Linked DNA regions of Homo sapiens: region 2 is linked to region 1. Evidence: promoter capture Hi-C in 16 types of primary human blood cells and fetal thymus (Javierre and others, 2016). All regions are on one chromosome and are shown on one strand. The core of a region is centred on a gene start or on the middle of the fragment in contact, and the rest is flanking DNA. Distances in the headings are between cores, read along the strand shown. Region 1 holds the start of DUSP23 (dual specificity phosphatase 23). Region 2 overlaps OR10J1 (olfactory receptor family 10 subfamily J member 1).

Region 1 (4,137 bases), core at 764-3,263:
TCCACATGGAGGCCCTAATGGTTTGATGGATGCACTGCTAGCCCTGCAGAAACCCACAAGAGGGAGAGAATCATTGGTAGGGGACTCAGGGAAGAGGAAGATCTCGGTCTCCCAAAAAAATTTTCTCTTTCTGGAGAATATGGGCTTCGAGCTGGATATCAAGGAGGCAAAGAAGGAGCACATAGGAGGGTAGGGAGTGAAGTGGAAACTTCCCTGGTGAGTAGGGGAAGCAAAGAAAGGAGAACAAGGCAAAGGGACTAAGAAAAGATTAACTTACAAGAACAAATGCTAGAGTCTTGTCTCCAGAGGTAGTGCAACCAGAAATCCTGAAGAGCAGTTGAATTGAGAAGAGAAGTGGGAGGTCAGGGGGTTGGGGGAAGAGGTGACTGGTGGCTGAGAGGCCATGGCTGGGAAAGAGAGAAAGGAATAAACTGGGGAGGGCTGGTAACCTTGATAGGAATTTATGTAGGAAATGAGAGTGCAAACAGGAAGGGCTTAATGAGGGCTGTGATTGTCTGGAAGGAGAAAAAGGGGAGATTTGGCACCTCCTGGAACCTGGGGAAAGTAATTGTCTGGGTAAATGGTAAGTGTATTTCCCACAGGGTCAGAGCAGGCTTTGATCTTTAGGAGAAGACAAATTGCTTTCCATCTTGCTGAAGCCAAAGGCTTAAATGGTCAGACGTGTGTCATAGGTGGGTGCAAAGGGAAGGAAATATAATACATCCTCATGGCCAAGTGCCCTGGGCTTGGATCACTGTGTCCTTGGCCAAGTTAACCAACTTCTTTAAGCTTCCAATGATTCATGTACAAAAAAAGATACAAAAATACCTTTCACATGTGGTTCTTCCAGAAAGCGCTTGGCACAGGGCCTGGTACATAAACAAATTCAATAAGGGTTAACTATTTTCATAATTACAGTTAGTCTGCATCGCTAGAAGCACATTATTCAAATGAGGATATGGACTGGTCAGATGACAGTGGAAACGGTGTTCAGATCTAGGGGCCCCCACCTAGTAAGAACAACACTAATCAACTCTAGCCTGCCCAGGGGACAGTGACCCAGAGAACTAGGAAACCTTGAAAAATGAAGAAATATGAAATACTAATAAAAATTAAGAAAACCCACAAGCGTTTAACCCAGATAATATTTGGGGACATGAGGGGGTTATGTGAAGAGAAAACAATGTTCCATTTAACTTTAGGAAATGGCGATATTATTAAAGATTTTGGAGGCATTAGTCATCATCCTTTGGTCAAGTTTATTAACCTCTCCAGTGCCTCTGTTTTTTCATCCATAAAATGGGATTCACTAGATCACCTATCTTATAAGATTACTGTGGCAATTAAATGAGTCAGTATGTGCTAAGTGCTTAGAAGACTATCTAGCACATAATAAATGCTCAATAAGTCCTGAGGAGCAACTGGATTGACAGGAGAAGTTGGTGCTGGTTATTATTATTACTATAATTATTACCCTGGGTAAGTTTTTAATAGTTCCAGCAATGAAAAAATGAGAATAGCCTCCTTGCAGCAGTAATTCCCTCTTACTGGAACAGTTCAAAAAGTCGCTGATAACGACCAGTCAATCATTAGAGAGGAGACTCCTCGTCCTGGGAGAAAGCCGATTTGTCATCTCTTAAACCCCAGGGCATCCAGCGTGAAGGAGGTAGAACTAGGCCGGCCCGCGAGGAGGCAGGGGCAGGCGCCAGTGACGCAATGACTGCAACATGCCGCCAGGGTGCAGCAGAGCCCGACCCCGGGTTGTTCCATCCGCAGCAAACAATTCCTAACTCGCTCCAGGTCTTCCTTCTTAGCTGAGTGGGTTGAACCCCGTGGAAGTAACCCCCCGCCCATTATGATGATCCAGCCAATCACCGCGTGATCTGCTCGGACGGGGCGGGATCGCGGCGCTTCCCTCGGTCGCTCAGAGACTGGGTTCCGCGTTCCAGCCCCGCCCCAGGTTCTGGGCCAATCCCCGCGGCTGGGCAGAGCGACCCGAGGGCGGCGCCCTGCAGACCACGTGGCCCGGGAGGCGCCGAGGCCAGGTAGGTGGTGAGTTACTTGGCTCGGAGCGGGCGAGGGGACGCGTGGGCGGAGCGGGGCTGGCCAGCCTCGGCCCCCATGACCCGCTGTCCTGTGCCCTTTCCCAGCGATGGGCGTGCAGCCCCCCAACTTCTCCTGGGTGCTTCCGGGCCGGCTGGCGGGACTGGCGCTGCCGCGGCTCCCCGCCCACTACCAGTTCCTGTTGGACCTGGGCGTGCGGCACCTGGTGTCCCTGACGGAGCGCGGGCCCCCTCACAGCGACAGCTGCCCCGGCCTCACCCTGCACCGCCTGCGCATCCCCGACTTCTGCCCGCCGGCCCCCGACCAGATCGACCGCTTCGTGCAGATCGTGGACGAGGCCAACGCACGGGGAGAGGTCAGCGGGCGGGGTCAGCGCAGGGAGGGAGGGGCCTGGAAGGTCAGCGGGGGACACGGGCGGAGCTGGGGAGACCGGGCCTGGGATAACTTAACTGGGCTCGGGGAGGCAGACAGTAGGGCCGGGAGACTGGGAAGCCAGTGCGGGGGAGGGAAGCGCTAAACGGAAGGAACTAAAGAGAGGGCGAAGCAGTGCGAACTGGGCTTGAGGAGAGGCAGTGAAAACCAGCTAATACTGTGAGTTGTGAAGGAGAAGGGTGTGGACAGACACCTGGGAGAGGTGGGGGTTGAAGTCAGGTGGAGGCTGTTTACCATTTTCTAGAGTAAAGCTGTCCAAATATAATGGAACCTAAGTGGCTCCATGTAATGTTAATTTTTCTAGCAACGGCATTCTTAAAAAGCAGGGAAGCAGATAAAATTAACTTTGGTGATCTTAATGAGATATTTTCATTCTTTTTTCTACTACCTCTTCATACCCTGTTGCGTTTTTCACACTACATCTCAGTTTGGACTAGCCACATTTCGAGTACAGTAGCCACAGTAGCCGTGGCTACTGTCTTCTGTATTGAACACCACAGGTGGAGGGCTGTGTAGAGGTGGACAGCTCTTGAACCAGCCAGTGCAGAGGCCTCCTAGCCACCTAGTGCAGGGACAGCCCTCCCTGACTTTGCTGCAGAGCCCTGGACCTGGCACAGAAGAAGGAGCTGTGGGGAGAACCAAGTGAGGGGCAGGAAACAGTTGTGGGTGGGGGAGTTGAGTGGCACCCATCGAGCCCCCTCTTCGTAGGCTGTGGGAGTGCACTGTGCTCTGGGCTTTGGCCGCACTGGCACCATGCTGGCCTGTTACCTGGTGAAGGAGCGGGGCTTGGCTGCAGGAGATGCCATTGCTGAAATCCGACGACTACGACCCGGCTCCATCGAGACCTATGAGCAGGAGAAAGCAGTCTTCCAGTTCTACCAGCGAACGAAATAAGGGGCCTTAGTACCCTTCTACCAGGCCCTCACTCCCCTTCCCCATGTTGTCGATGGGGCCAGAGATGAAGGGAAGTGGACTAAAGTATTAAACCCTCTAGCTCCCATTGGCTGAAGACACTGAAGTAGCCCACCCCTGCAGGCAGGTCCTGATTGAAGGGGAGGCTTGTACTGCTTTGTTGAATAAATGAGTTTTACGAACCAGGGCACGTTGCATGGTACTTTATAAAGCATTCCCACACATTAACTTACTTCAGCCTCACTGTAGCCCTGTGATACAGGAAAGACAGATGGGCCATCTCTGTTCTTTGGATGAGGTGGGCAAAGCTCAGAGAGGCCCATCTTCAACACTTCTAGAAAGTGGAAGGATGGGCCAGAACAGCAACACACGTCTTCAATCCCTTGAAGATGCTGAAATGCTATGTATCTGTTCCCTGACAATATTTGATGTGTTTTCTGGGGGAGCTAGTCAATGAAAAGGATTCAGGTCCAGAATAGCCTGGCCTCCTGGCATTCCCAGGTCTCTGATGCTCACAGGCCAGGAGGCCCCTCCGTGTAGGCCCACCTGCTGCACACGTGTCACCCTTGTTTATCTGGGGGTAGAGACAGCCTGGATGTCACACTCACAGATAACCACCATCTCCACCTCCACAGGGCTGGTCACCTCTTACCAACCTCAGGTGCTGCTCAGCTCATCTGGGCTCTCTGGCTCATTCTGCTGCCCCACAACCTCAGGCCAAAGGACCTG
Region 2 (4,137 bases), core at 716-3,215, 340 kb before region 1:
TACTGGATGGAGTGTTATCCCTATTTTTGGGGATAAATAGACAAACAAGGATAAGATATGCCTAAATAAAAGGCCAGAAAGTAGTATGGGCTGAGAATTTTTTACTGACCTTTTGGTTTCTTTGTGAATCTCCACCTAATGAAGGCAATAGAAAGCCCCTTGAGAAAATAGAATCCAAGACACACTTAAAATCTTTTTCCTATAATCCCTTTCTTCCTATACTAGAGCACCAGGGCTTCTGAAACTGGATTCCCTATTGGAGTATGTTTATGACATGTCAAGTAATAAGTTACTGTGTGGGGAGGGAAAGTGGCCTCAGGATTAGATAGCCCAGGAGAAATAGATGTTCTCTCCTGGATGTGTTAATTTATCCCAGATTCTAGCAAAACTGCTTATTAAAGATGGTGAGCATACACAGTTTAATTAGAGATGCTGGCAATTCTACAGTCATCATGACAGTGTTTTGAGGGCATAATCTGAGATACTCCTGGATCCTTTCAAATTTGGCTAAATCAGAAAACACATAATGGGCAAGAGCTATGAACTAGCCTCTGTGCTAGGTCCTGGAGAAATAAAGATTAAAAAAGCTTTCTTGTCTGGCTTCAGGAAGCTACAAGCCTAGTGGTAAAAACAAGCATTTGACAGTATGGTTTCAGTTCTTTATGGTAAGTGGTGTTTACACACAATTAAAGAAGAACTCAGAAAAAGAAAGAAAAGGAAAGGGGAAGAGAGAGAGACTGTTGGAGATGTTAGGGAAGTCTTAAGAGGAGGGGACCTGTGATGCAAACTGTTTTTAAAACACAAGAGATTGTCTGAATGATAAGAAAGAATTCCAAAGAGAAGAAACAATGTAGCTACAGGTATGAAAGCAAAAGGACTGATCAGGTAACGAAAAATGATTCAGTTGTGCTGACTCCAGGACATGGAAGAGGTGGGGATTGAAGGAGATAAAACCAGAAGGGTAGGTTGGGGTCATATTCTGAAGGCCTCATATGCCAAATTAAGGAATTTCAGCTTTAACTTTTTTTTAAAAAAAACAGAGTCTTGCTCTGTTGCCCAGGCCGGAGTGCAGTGGCACAATCTCAGCTCTCTGCAACCTCCGCCTCCTGGGTTCAAGTGATTCTCCTGTCTCAGCCTCCTGAGTAGCTGGGATTACAGGCATGCGTCACCACATCCGGCTAATTTTTGTATTTTTAGTAGAGACAGGGTTTCTCCATGTTGCCCAGGCTGATCTCAAACTCCTGACCTCAGGTGATCCACCAACCTTGGCCTCCCAAAGTGCTGGGATTACAGGCGTGAACCACTGCACCCGGACAGTTTTTACTTTTAAATATGGGAACTACCCAGGACTTAGGAGAACTAGGATTCAGTTTGTGAAGCATCTATATGAATTCTTAACATCTTTATCATACTTAGCTCCCCTGAGATATCTAAAAAGCCATATAGGGGGAGGGAGACTTTGGACTGCAAGCCAAAAAGCTCATGAGTAAAAAGAAAATGTGACTAAGGTATTGGGGAGAATACACAGAAATAATTATGTACTTAAGATGAAGCTGAATCAGACTGTCATAGAGAACATGGAGTGGAGGCTGTCCCAGGACTGTCATGTAGATTTGGGGTTTGAGATACAGATGAGCACCAAGGGAAGAATAAGGATTTGCTGTCAAATCAGTGACTAGGCTGGGCCTCAGACCTGGTGGCAGTATGGTCTCAGGGCACACTTTCTACTAGGCTGAAAGTGTGGACTCTTTAATCAGAAAAGCCTTTGAACGAACAAACAAACAAAACAGCCGAGATCCAAAGGACACATGTATCTGCATTCCAGACCATAATAGAACTACTAGGGCATTTTTCAGGATTAACAAGGTCAATGGCAAAAATAAAACCATATCTAAAGTTCTCTAAGAACATCATAAGGTGGCTAAAAGTAACTAAGACAAGTTGTTAACTGACAAGAAAAAAAACTGAAAAAAGCAAAACATTGCTGGTAAAGATTTTGACAGGCATTCAGTAAACATTCATGAAATGTTTACCAGTTATTCAATAAACATTCATAAAGTATTTACTATGTGCCAGATACTATGCTAGACATAAAAAAATCTTGAAATAAGCCCTGTACTATCCCTTAAATAGTTTCCAGTCTTGAAAGGGAGATGGGTTTATGCAGAACTCACCGTAATTCAATGTGATGGAGAAATGAACAAAGTATGCTTAATATTTAATGACAAAAATGTAAGCCTCGGGATATTTTTTCCTGATCTATATAAAGCTAAATCTCATCAAGCTAAGAATGGACTTTGCACGTTGAAGTTCAGTGAAATAAATGCCTGTTACCTGGACAGTAAGGTTGCCTTGATCTGTGTGTAGTGCTATCTCCTGGGGCCAAAGGCTATGTAGCTCCTGCTGGGCATCACTCAGAACATTTCATCACCATGGAATTTTAGAACATTTATCACTCAGGTTTTTCAGAAATCTTGTTTGAACAGAATAGCTTAACAGTCAGACATTATGGAATCAAATGTTTTCAACAATCCCTTTTTTTGGAATTATTTTAGTCATCATTCATGCTCTGTATCACTGCTTTCACACTGTAGCCCCTTGCCACAAGACAATTTCCCAACCATTATCTCACTAGGTCCTCAGAACAATCTCAAGGGAGACAAGGATAAGGCTCTCATTATACAGATAATAAGATTGAGATAGAAAAAGGAGTGAAGGCAGAACTTGAACTTGCACCAGTTGGCTGGCATTTTCTGTTTTCCTAGAATAAATCCTCACCCAAGGGCGACTCACAATGGAGATAGTGATGTACTAGAGAAATCAAACTAGGCAAAATTTACATTCTCCGGGGCCTCAAACATTCCAAATAAATCAAAACCTCATCCCCAAGGCTTTTCCAAGAGAGGTCCTATATAAAAGGGCCACCTGGTACCCTTACTCTAGCCAGTGGGGACTCATGAGGAAGAGCATCTCCAGCACAGCACAAGCTGTAAAGTCTTATTCATGCAGAACCAGCTGAGAATTTAGGGAACATGAGTATCCATTTTCTCCAATATTAAAACAAATCATAGAAAAGCATTTAGAGCTCCACAAGCAAACCTAACCCTTACTTAAACAGATTCAAGAATTCAGTAGACACTGTGTTGCGTTAGATCTGGAGCCAGATGCTGGGAATAAGTGGTCAATTATGCCAAGTGTCTGGCCTGTGGACAGACAGACTGATATATATATATATAAATAATATATATTAACGTAGCATATATATTAACATAACATATATATATATATATATATATATATATTTGGTAGACTAATGAATGTTAAACTAGAGCACAGAAGGAAGAAAGCTTTAGTTCCAATTGATGTTTTTAAATTATAAATAAAGAATAATAAACACAGGTTCTTGGCCAGTCAACCAGCTCACCTCTCTTCAAGCACACACTAAACACCATTAGCAATAAAGGGACAGATCATGCAATAGAGGGATTTGAGATCTTTATGGTGGTGCAGGACTCTTTTATGTAAGGAAACTTCCAGCAACTCAAACTTTAAACTCTTATTTCTGTGGATGCCATCGAAGACTTCAGAAAGCATGAGTACCTCACTCACTCACTGCCTAGTAGAACTGAGGCTAGGATATGTTAAATGCCTTTGCAATATTTCTGTTGGACACACACTCCCTCCTCCCCAGCAATCTACAGACATATATCTCTGAGACATCTGTAAGCCCAAAGGAAAGCCTATGCACTTGTACTGGGTGGGGGTAGGGAGACACAATATAAACCTGAAGGCCACTGAACTGAGATAGAAGTTAATGATTCACCCACAAAGACCTCTTGAAATTGAGAGTCACAACATTTAAGCAACTCAACCAGGAATAGAGAGTTAATGAATGAGGGAGCTAAGGCTTGAATTCAGTCTGCTGACTTCAAGCCTTCCCATTCCTTATGCTGTAGCTGTGAGAAGTGACTGGTAAAAATGGGCTCTTAACCAAAGTCCACCATGGGATCCCAGTATTCACTAAAAGAAAACTTTCACCATGGGATCCCAGTATTCACTAAAAGAAAACTTTCAGTGGGAATAGAACAATGAGAACACATGGACACAGGAAGGGGAACATCACACTCTGGGGACTGT

Evidence for each region. Contacts are between HindIII fragments. The CHiCAGO score rates a contact against its expected background, and 5 or more counts as called.
Region 2: a contact is called between a fragment that was not itself captured here and the fragment with the promoter of DUSP23 in region 1, in 4 of 17 cell types (M2 macrophages, endothelial precursors, M1 macrophages and 1 more). The highest score is 6.7, in M2 macrophages.

The regions. Positions count from the first base shown.
Region 1 is chr1:159,778,949-159,783,085 of GRCh38, forward strand. It overlaps DUSP23 (dual specificity phosphatase 23), which reads left to right and starts at 2,014. Exons shown (of 2, transcript NM_001319658.2): 1 at 2,014-2,419; 2 at 3,205-3,595. The coding sequence starts at 2,153. The coding sequence ends at 3,390. LOC101928264 (a long non-coding RNA gene) reads right to left here and starts at 433. Exons shown (of 3, transcript XR_922193.3): 1 at 278-433. RefSeq lists a silencer at 1,949-2,338 and an enhancer at 2,330-2,906. The HindIII fragment of the contact is 4,062 bases long and covers 788-4,137 here.
Region 2 is chr1:159,440,885-159,445,021 of GRCh38, forward strand. OR10J1 (olfactory receptor family 10 subfamily J member 1) reads left to right here. Exons shown (of 1, transcript NM_012351.3): 1 at 1-83. Among named protein-coding and RNA genes, the nearest start is that of OR10J1, 3.2 kb to the left of the region's middle. The HindIII fragment of the contact is 2,760 bases long and covers 586-3,345 here.